Regions from separate parts of the Homo sapiens genome. Here region 2 is linked to region 1. Evidence: promoter capture Hi-C in 16 types of primary human blood cells and fetal thymus (Javierre and others, 2016). All regions are on one chromosome and are shown on one strand. Each heading gives the region's core, a stretch centred on a gene start or on the middle of the fragment in contact. The rest is flanking DNA. Distances are from core to core; before and after follow the strand shown. Region 1 holds the start of PCSK7 (proprotein convertase subtilisin/kexin type 7). Region 2 overlaps ARCN1 (archain 1 coat protein complex I subunit delta).

Region 1 (5,170 bases), core at 1,025-3,524:
GAAGCACATAAACTAGAAGATTCCGGAGGACTGGGGGCATTGGCCACAACACCAGCAACCTCAGACGCTGCCATTATGCTCTGTACATTCAGAAACAAATTACAGGCTACAAGTTTCCAAAGTTTAAAACAAATGTATCTCTCCCCCCTCAGAATGTCCACACAACAGAGCTGTCGCAGTAAAGAAACACAAAAACCTGGGCTCCGGGAGAAAATACTTAAGAGTACTAAAAGAGACATTGTATGCAAAGTCCTAGTGTCCTAGTGGGCAGCAATCCTCAGGAGTCACTGTATTTACATAAATATCTAGGAGTCTGTGCAAAGATCTTATTTTCACTTTTGGCAGAAATGTAGTCATTTCAAACAATACATCTTAGTCTGCCAGGATCTTCCAAGTGGTCCCAGGCCTACCTTGTCTGCTATCATTTTTAATAAAAGACGTACTTTTCGGCCTAGTATCAATCAGATCTCATGTTTTTAAATCACTTTATGGCTGTTACATTCAAAGCATTCTCCATTAATTTAAGGGAAGTTTTTGGAGGTGTCTGCCTGTAAGTCAACAAGTAATGCAATACTGGGCAATCCAGGGTGCATATTTTACTGTCAGCGTGCTCCCCACAGATGGGAAAGGCCTGATACCCACTAACTGAGCAAAGAACAGACTCTTCAGAGTGACTAGTGGTGCAAAAAAGAATCCTGGGTTCTCTAGCGTGAAAAAGTCAAGGTAAAAAACATGGTAACACAAGTAAGGGAACTGGGACGGACGCCTTTTTTAAAAATCAAAAGGTCATCTTTTATGCCGCAGAGCAAACTTATGACCTTATGAGGAGAAAAGAAAATCAAAATACTTGGGAGGTGGGGATGAACATCGGGTTAGTTTGCATTCTTGCTTTTATTTTAACAGCATCACACGTATTCCCCCCCGGAACACTGAAGAGCGCATAGGGCAGATAGGTAGATGGGGCTGTGTCAACACCTCAGTCACAGCCCACAGACCCTCTGTGCCTCAGTTTCCCTCATTATACAAAGCTCCTGGGAGAAAATGGGCCCAAACCGCCATTGCTGCTCCCTCAGGTGCAAACATCCCGTCTCCAACATAGCCCAGGGCTGGGGGGTCCTCTGCGCCCGGTGAACGAAACCCCAGGACAAGGGCCATGCATGCAACTCCGTGGCTAGAGAGCCCGTGGCGCGGGTAGGAACAGCTGGCTGGAGGGTCGAGTGTACCAAAAAGAACTCCGCAACCCGGGGCGACCACCAGCGAAGCAGGGGCGCCGGAGCCACGGGTCCTCGGGCGAGAACAGGGGACAGACGGGAAGGGGACAATGGGGGGAAGCGGCGCTGGGTGGCCTTGGCCACCCCCCACAGGGGACTGCTAGGCTGGCCGCTGGCTCGGACCAGACCCCCCTCCACCCCTTCCCCTCGGTCCCCCCACCCCGCTGCCAGCCACCCCCCCGTCCCACTTCTAGGCCGGGACCCCCGCCTCGGTTCTCACAGCACCCTCCACGCCCCCCACCCGACCCCCATGCCCGGCCCTCGCCCCGCAACCCCCACCCACGCTCGCCCCGCACACACCTCCCGCGCCGCGCCCCCGGGAGGAAAGTGGGGGAGGGACGGGACGCACCTGAGCGGGCGGAGCGGGGGGAGGGGGCGGCCGAGCCACGGGGGGAGGGGTCGAGCGCCGGCCCGCGCGCGGCACCTCCCACTTCCGGCGGCACGAGCGGAGGGGGCGAGGCTCCGGCCGCGAGAGGAGAGGCCGCGGTGGCGCCGCGCCGCCCCCGACGGCGCCCTCTGGCGGCGACAGCTGGCGCCGCCGGGGCACGGGGATGCTGCGGGAGACCCCTGAGATACAAGTGGACTCTCCCGGGGCGCGGGGAAGAAGGGAGAGCCGACTGCGAGAAGGAAGGCGACCTGGGTGGGCAGGATCCCCTCTGGGAAGATTACAGGGACAGTCGGGGCCATGGCGGTCAGAAGGAGAAGAGCAACGAGTGGCTTTTAAAGGTCGGAACCGAAATGCCCTTTACAGAGGACGCCATGAAGGAGAGCCTTCTGAAGAGGGACCATGTGGAAGATGCCCCGAGGACTCGGGGAGGCGGAGCCCGCGGGTTCAGCCCCCAGCGCCCGCACGGCCCCTGCCTGCGTAGGCCGCCCGCGGGAGCCGGACCCCGGGCGCCGGTTGCTGTGGCCCGCGGGGGTCGCCGGGCCGCAGGCGCCGCGCTGATTGGCTGCGCCGCGGGCGGAAGTGATGCTGCTGTCACTGCTCCTCCGGCTCCCGGGAAGCCGCGAGTTTCCGCAGGGAGGCGGCGGCAGCTGCGGCGGGGCCGGTGAGTTGGGAACTAGGTGTGGGGCTGGACCTGGGTGGTCAGGGGGCCCCAGAAGTGGGGGAAGCCGGCGTCTGAGGATGAGGGAGCTGCACAGAGGGTGCCTGAGGTCCTGGCGTGGGGGACCAAGGAGATGGGGCCCCAGGGCCCAGAATTCCTGGATAATGTGGGTGCTAATGAGGAGAGGGGCACATTGCACGGAGCGATCGAGGCCGACGGAGGGAGAATCGGGAAACTGACCCGGTACCCAAGCTGGCTTCTAGGAGCCGGGTGTGGAACAGCGAGGACAGTAGCTTGGGAGCAGGATCTTGGACTCCAGGCTGCCCATTCTCTTCTTCCTTGTCAATTAAGAGCTGTAAAGGGAGGCCTAGCCGTTGGGAGAGGTTGAGACCTGCTTTCAGAAGGCATTTAAGGTTCCTTTCCCAGAAGCCTGGGGGATAAAAATGCTGCTTTGCCACTAGTAGACAGAAGGAGCTCCTGCTTCTCTTTCTTCCTGACATCTGTGGTGGGATCTACTGAGTCTGAAGGAGTCTGCCTAGCGGGGCCACTGTCTGGCTAACAAGGGTTTTGTTTGTTAGTTTGTTTACTTAGTAGAGTATGCAGACTGGGGAAGACACCTAAATATCTTGGGAGAATTGAGGCTCCCGGGGGCAGGGAGGGATTGAGAGGGAATATGCCTGGAAACCTAAGAGAAAACGAGAGGAAGAAATGTAGTATGAAGATTTTTAGAGGTAAAGGAGAGGTGGCATAAGTTCTCCTTTCCAGGAAGCCTTTCAGTAAAATTCCCATTTTTCTGGAATGCTTTGAGGTAGAGCCGCTTGGGTGTGTATCTGAGTACTAAGCCCTGCCCCAGGGTGGACCCAGTGGAGAGCAAAGGCTTTTAAAGGAGCCCAGCCACCATAGGTACACACATGTCCTGCCACCCCATTTGTCTGTCCCCCAGTTCTAACTTGGCTCTTTTTTTTTTTTTTTGAGGGCTCCTGAGACCAATTCCCTGGTTCTGTCAAACCCAGGCAATTGGAGTCCCAGTCTGGAGTCTGAGTCCTCACCTTGAAGCCAGCCTCCTGAGCTCAGTACAGGAGTAGCTGCTTAGTGAGGTTCTCTCATCATTCGTTCTCTCCTGGTTGCCCGCTTGTCCTTGGTGCCTGTTCTGTTTTGTTTGCACTCTCTGGCTTTCCCCGTTTCGCCCCCGCCGCCTCCCTCCTTTCACTTTCCCTGGTATCCTTCTGGGATATACAAATCAAGAAGTTAGCTACCACCTGGACTTCTAGGACGTTATTACCTACTCTTTCAAGAGGCATTTTGGTAACTGTTTTTTGCTAGGCCTCTGGGGAACAAAATGAAAAGAGGGTGGCACGATAGCACAGGAAGTGGGTTTTTTGGGTGTTATACTGATTTGGCCTCACCGTACCAGTTCTGCTCCAGTCTATGACCGATTTTAGATCTTTGGAAATGACAATTAATGAAGTTTCTTTGGTCCCTGGTCCTGGAGTTTATCTAACCTCAGCTTGTTGCCCTGGGATTGGTGGGACATTATTTCTTCTGTTCTTGGATCCCACAGGTCTGTAGCCTTTGCTGAGTCAACACTACTCACAGTGAAAGTGATGCCTTTTCTCCATTTGCACAACATGAGTGTGACGTGGTTAGCCAGACCAGGAGCTCAACCTCATGTAGAATCCAGGTGGGCACGGGGCCCTGTTATGGGGAATTAGCCTTGAGGACAACTGGACTGAGGAGTCAGCTAGGGAAAGATTTATGTCCCCTCTAAATGTAGGGGTGAAGGGGTTGTCTCTGCTAAAGAACAGTCACGATGCAGCCAGTAGTTTGTGGAAGCGATGTGTGCTTTGAGCCCTGTGGGTGGCAACAGGGGTTGCTCGCAGTGCCTGTGAGCAACTGGACCTCCTGCTGGATTAGCTGGTGTCGTGAGGATTGGCTGTCTTGCTGTGGGAGGCCATCCGCTGGTGTTAGTGCTGGCCCACACTCCACCTGGGGGCTTATCCCTGTTGGTCAGGGATAAATGTGAACAAAAAGAGAAGATCAAATGTTTCACAATTTAAAAGGCATGGCTTAGGGACTTCCAGGGGGAACACATGGATGGCTCAGCATCTCCCTCTCAGATTCCTGCAGTTACCAGCTCTTTGATCTCTTCCATATCCTTTTTCTTTGTCTGCAGTCCACTGCTCTGATGCCGAAGGGGAGGCAGAAAGTGCCACACTTGGATGCCCCCCTGGGCCTGCCCACCTGCCTCTGGCTGGAATTAGCCGGGCTCTTCTTACTGGTTCCCTGGGTCATGGGCCTGGCAGGGACAGGTGGGCCTGATGGCCAGGGCACAGGGGGGCCGAGCTGGGCTGTGCACCTGGAAAGCCTGGAAGGTGACGGGGAGGAAGAGACTCTGGAGCAGCAGGCGGATGCCTTGGCCCAGGCAGCAGGGCTGGTGAATGCTGGACGCATCGGAGAGCTTCAGGGGCACTACCTCTTTGTCCAGCCTGCTGGGCACAGGCCGGCCCTGGAGGTGGAGGCCATCCGGCAGCAGGTGGAGGCTGTGTTGGCTGGGCATGAAGCTGTGCGCTGGCACTCAGAGCAGAGGCTGCTAAGGCGGGCCAAGCGCAGCGTCCACTTCAACGACCCCAAGTACCCGCAGCAATGGCACCTGGTGAGTCCAGTCCTGCAGTTTGCAGTTTCAGGTGGGTAGGTTCCAGTCCAGTTCTTTAATGGGCTTTTGACTATATCACTCTTCAGTCACCTCCATCCTTTGCCTGAGGGACCATTTCCCGGTTCTGTGGTGTTTCCCTAGGCTCTCCCTCCCTTCTACTGTCTTCTAGAGGCCGGTGTTCTACAGTGCTCAGGGCACAG
Region 2 (5,170 bases), core at 866-3,365, 1.3 Mb before region 1:
ATTTTACATACAGTTTCAGGGAATGCATCGATCCTCTAGAGAAGTTATTTCAAATGGCCCATAGAAAATCCCCTCATGCGATGAGAAATATTATTAATAAATGGGAGCATATTGTAAATGTAATCCCTGTAGAGCCTCCTATCCCTAAAAGGTTGAGAGTCATAGCTCTAGGAAGTCATGGTCCTCTATGTTAGAATTTTATGAGGTTTTGAAGAAATAAGACAAATCAAATGAACACCTAAAGAAAGGACAGCTCAGACCAAAACTTCAGACCTATATAAACATGCTGCATTTAATAGAAACCCCATATCTAATAATAAACCTGTTAGAAACAATGTTTACAGGCTCAAGGGTAGTTCTTAGGTTTCCAACTGGAGTTAAAAACACCTCTATACCATACAAGTAAAATTTAGGTAAAAACATCAAAAGCAACTTGAGAGGGAAAAAGGAACAAAAAGGTGTATGTTACTATCCACTTTATTTATTTATTTATTTATTTATTTATTTATTTATTTATTTATTTATTTTTTGAGAGAGTGTCTCACTCTGTAGTCCAGGCTGGAGTGCAGTGGTGCCATCTTGGCTCACTGCAAGCTCTGCCTCCTGAGTTCAAGCAATTCTCATGCCTCAGCCTCCTGAGTAACTGGGACTACAGGCACAGGCCAGCACCACCAAGCCTGGCTAATTTTTCTATTTTTAATAGAGACAGGGTTTTGCCATGTTGGGCAGGCTGGTCTCCAACTCCTGGCCTCAAGTCATCTGCGCGCCTTGGCCTCCAAAGTGTTGGGATTACAGGAGTGAGCCACTGCACCTGGCCCATCCACTTTACTGATGAGCATGTTCAAAAACTAATTATAGGTACTGGTAATCTCCATTTTTGCGATATTATAAGAATTAACTGAGTAATTATTTATCGAACATCTACTATACATACAACATGCTTTCTGAGAATTAAGATGACACAGGCTAGCATTCTGCCTACAAGAAGCTTAATAGGGATAAGACACAAACACAAATAACTGTAATATGAGGCAGAATGTGTTAAGTAACATGAGAGAGTAACCGATAAAGTGCGTGGAAATTCAGAGGAAGAGATTACTTCCAGCTGGTACAGTCAGGGATGACTTGATAGAAGAAACAGCATTTAGGCCGGGAGCGGTGGCTCATGCCTTAATCCAGCACTTTGGGAGCCAGGGCAGGCAGATCACCTGAGGTCAGGAGTTCGAGACCAGCCTGGTCAACATGGGAAAACCCTGTCTCTACCAAAAAATACAAAAAATTAGCCAAGTCTGGTGGTGCACGTCTGTAGTCCCAGCTACGGGGAGAGTGAGGTGGGAGGATTGCTTGAACCTGGGAGGCGGAAGTTGCAGTAAGCCAAGATCATACCACTTCACTCCAGCCTGGGCTACAAAGTGAGACTCTGCCTCAAAAAAAAAAAAGAAAGAAAGAAAGAAAGAAACAGAATTTAGATCATGCTTTGATGAATTCCAGGATTTGTTTGTTTTGAAACAGAGTCTTGCTCTATTGCCCAAGCTGTAGTGCAGTGGCGTGATCTTGGCTCAGTGCAGCCTCAACCTTCTGGGCTCAGGTGATTCTCCCACCTCAGCCTCCCAAGTATCTGGGACTACAGGCACAGGCCACCACACCTGGCTAATTTTTTGTATTTTTCTGTAGAGACAGGGTTTTGCCATGTTGCCCAGGCTGGTCTCAAACTCCCAACCTCAAGTGATCTGCCCGCCTGAGCCTCCCAAAGTGCTGGGATTACAGGCATGAGCCGCCACACCTGGCCAGAATTCCAGGCTTTCAGTACGTCAAGATGAAGAAAGAAGTAGGGTAAAATCATATGTCTCTCTTTGAGTCATTCCATTATCCAGATACAAGCAAAACAAGGCTTCCAAAATAGGACCATAGTTCCCCATACTAAGTATAGCATAAATCTCCGAACACCCAGGACACCACAAATTACAGGTTCCAGGCAGTTGACACAGGTCTCTCTGTTACAGCTACTAATATGGCTAGAAGGTATGGTCACCTCTAAACATGATAAATTTATCCTATCCTAAATTAACATTTGTCTTCTTAAAGTTCTTGAAATAATAAACCTCTTTACATTAATGTTTACTGGTTTAACAATTATTAAAATATAGCATATACTAAAAGGTAAGTTAACAATTTTCCCTATTGAAATTTGATCTGATTTTCTCTGAGGAAGAATTAATAAATATGATTACAAAGTTTTTGGTTTTTTTTTTTTTTTTTTTTTTTAACATTTTTGGAAAAAACATTCCAGATCTAAAAGGAACTTGCAAGAGCCCTTGATTGTCTTACAGATGTGAAAACTGAGGGCCCATAAGTTAGATGATCTCTCCAGGACGGTTAAAAAAAAAAAAAATTCCCTCATAAAGTTGAGCTTTGCCAAACAACTTTTAATAATTCTTACATGGTTTGAGTACACTATCTTTGGACTAAATAACAACTCTCTCCTACACAGACTTAACTACATGAATTGTTAAGTGCCTCAAGTAAAAAAACCTGGAGAATTAGGTTTCTGTTCTGCCTTTGCCACTAATTATGTGACCTTGGATAAGTCACTTAATTGATTATTGAAATATCCCTAACATAGGAGGTTAGTTTACATGAAATCCAAAGTGCTCTGTGTCTTTAAAGTTCTGTAAGTCTAAGCATTTGAAAACTACAGTAACAGAAAAAAAAAAAAACAACTACAGTGACAGAAAATGTACAATACTTCCATTTTATACCCACTGCTCCAGTTCTAACCACTTTGGAACAATATTTTATAGTAACATTAGGCTGCCAGAAGGCAAATTGTCTAACCATAACAAATTGTGTGTGCAAGAGAGATACAAGAATAACAGGTGGTATAATAATTCAGGATAAATATGCACAACTCTCTCTCAAAAAAAGTCAAGTTCTTTCTTGAATCTCTAAATGCTTCAGGATCCCTTACTTCCAGAATTATAGTCACCTTCTCCTTTGTAATTCACCGCAATATTTTATACACATATACATGCACACACAATTCATGGTCATATTAAGGCTAGTTTCTATAATTGTCAGGGAGGACTGTTCTGTCTTTTCTATTTATATGAAGCTATTATAGATAAAATCAGAGAGAAGATTACAATAAAATGTAGACCACATACGAAACCTAAAACTTGAAAAGTAATTTACTCAGTGAGGGTTTTAAGTCCATCACATTTCTATTCTAAAACAAAAGCTTGCAGAGAATTAAAACACACACACACACACACACACACACCCGTTATCAGTTTCTGCAGTGAACTTCTATATGAAGACATAAATAGATGGCAAATCAATGGAAACTCAAGAGAATCATTTTCTTTCTTTGCTGTCCCTCAAAACACAATTAAAAAGATACATAAATAATACAGGGGCCGGGCGCCATGGCTCACACCTATAATCCCAGCACTTTGGGAGGCCGAGGCGGGCAGATCACGAGGTGAGGAGATCGAGACTATCCTGGCTAACATGGTGAAACCCCGTATCTACTAAAAATACAAAAAAGTAGTTGGGCGTGGTGGCAGGCGCCTGCAGTCCCAGCTACTCAGGAGGCTGAGGCAGGAGGATAGCTTGAACCCGGGAGGCAGAAGTTGCAGTGAGCTGAGATTGTGCCACTGCACTCCAGCCTGGAGACAGAGCGAGAATCCGTCTCGAAAACCAAACAAACAAGAAAAAAAGTCAGAACATGTTCTCATTAATTTGCAGAATACAAAAAAAAGATCAAATCAAGGCCCGCATGCCTACAGTCCCAGCTACTTGGGATATGGAGGCGGGAGGATTGCTTGAGGCTAGGAGTTCTAGGCCGCAGTGCACTATGATAGCGCCTGTGAATAGCTACTGCCCTCCAGCCTGGGCAACATAGTGAGACCCTGTCTCTTTAAAAAAAAAAAATCAAAAGATGCCTTTCTTTGTACTTTATTTTATGATGAAGTCATGAGAAAGCATTTGTTTCTGCATTTGTTCACTTATTTATCTATTGGAACTTTGCAGTCTAGGACATTCTGCACTTCAATAACTAAAGCCAAAGGGAATTTATTTTTTAAAAAATCAATGTTTACGTACTGATATCTGCAACTTACTTTGAAATGTATATTTTTTTTTAATGGAGAGAGGGATGGATGGATGATTAGATGCATGATAAAATATAGTGAAATGTTAGTTATAGAATCTAGTTGGTGGTTATATGGGTATTCACTACAAAGTTCTTTCAACTTTTCCAGATGTTGGAAAATTTCATAATGAAATGTTGAGCTAAAATAAACGCTGGAAATTTTGATACAACTTTTAGATAAAAATTTCACCCTATCTGGACATTTCTACTGTCCAGGGATCTGTTTGTAAAGGAGCAGGACCCAAAAACATTACACAGAAATCATACCAATGTCTTAACACTCTACAGAGCAGAATGTACTGAGATAAATTGTTCTCCAGAGTACACAAATCTGTGGGTATCTGGATCATGTTAAGTCCCAAATAATTCAGAAATATGTGACACAACTCTATGTATACGTACACATGTCAAAATAGCATGCAAAAGTTATATTTTATATATATCACGTAGGGCTTTACCATCCCTCAGTTATCAATGAATTAAAAATACTAAGTTCCAAGAACCTTTTAACAAAGAATATTTTTAGAAAGATTACCTTTATCTGGTTTATATAATACAAGACCTTAACTTTACTATTAAAATAAAAATATGCTCTAAAATGCATTATTAATTCCAGGGTGTAAACGGGAACTGAGTTTCAAAATCACTAACCAAATACAGAACCTCCTGGAGAAACTGAAAATACAAGTTTCTGGAAATTTTGTGTCCAACACAAAAATTTTAGGAGGCAAACCTGTTTGATGCAATTTATATACCTGAGGCTGAGAAAAGCTGTTCAGTGGCCTAAAGTCCAAGCATGAATTCCCCCCATTATCCAAGTTCTTATCTAAAGGGTTGTCAATAGAACTTATTAGGATTGCCACCAAATTACATTCTGCCATCTCTCAGGTACACTGGACGATGTTTTAAATCAAGTTATCTATTGACAAAAGAATAAAAAAGAACAGAACAGAACATCCTTCAAAAGACTAAAGGACATAAGGTGCACTGAAAAATAAATTACTAGCTTTTTTGAAA

What was found. The method cuts DNA at HindIII sites, captures the fragments that hold promoters and counts their contacts. A CHiCAGO score of 5 or more calls a contact.
Region 2: a contact is called between a fragment that was not itself captured here and the fragment with the promoter of PCSK7 in region 1, in 1 of 17 cell types (monocytes). The highest score is 5.7, in monocytes.

The regions. Positions count from the first base shown.
Region 1 is chr11:117,229,177-117,234,346 of GRCh38, reverse strand. It overlaps PCSK7 (proprotein convertase subtilisin/kexin type 7), which reads left to right and starts at 2,274. Exons shown (of 17, transcript NM_004716.4): 1 at 2,274-2,320; 2 at 3,879-3,998; 3 at 4,491-4,970. The coding sequence starts at 4,503. It overlaps RNF214 (ring finger protein 214), which reads right to left and starts at 1,676. Exons shown (of 15, transcript NM_207343.4): 1 at 1,621-1,676; 2 at 1-80. The coding sequence starts at 74. RefSeq lists silencers at 1,537-1,876, 2,087-2,236 and enhancers at 2,427-2,476, 3,346-3,585. The HindIII fragment of the contact is 17,537 bases long and covers 1-5,170 here.
Region 2 is chr11:118,573,522-118,578,691 of GRCh38, reverse strand. All of the region lies in intron 1 of ARCN1 (archain 1 coat protein complex I subunit delta), which reads right to left. It also overlaps a transcript of IFT46 not described here. Among named protein-coding and RNA genes, the nearest start is that of ARCN1, 3.7 kb to the right of the region's middle. The HindIII fragment of the contact is 2,250 bases long and covers 991-3,240 here.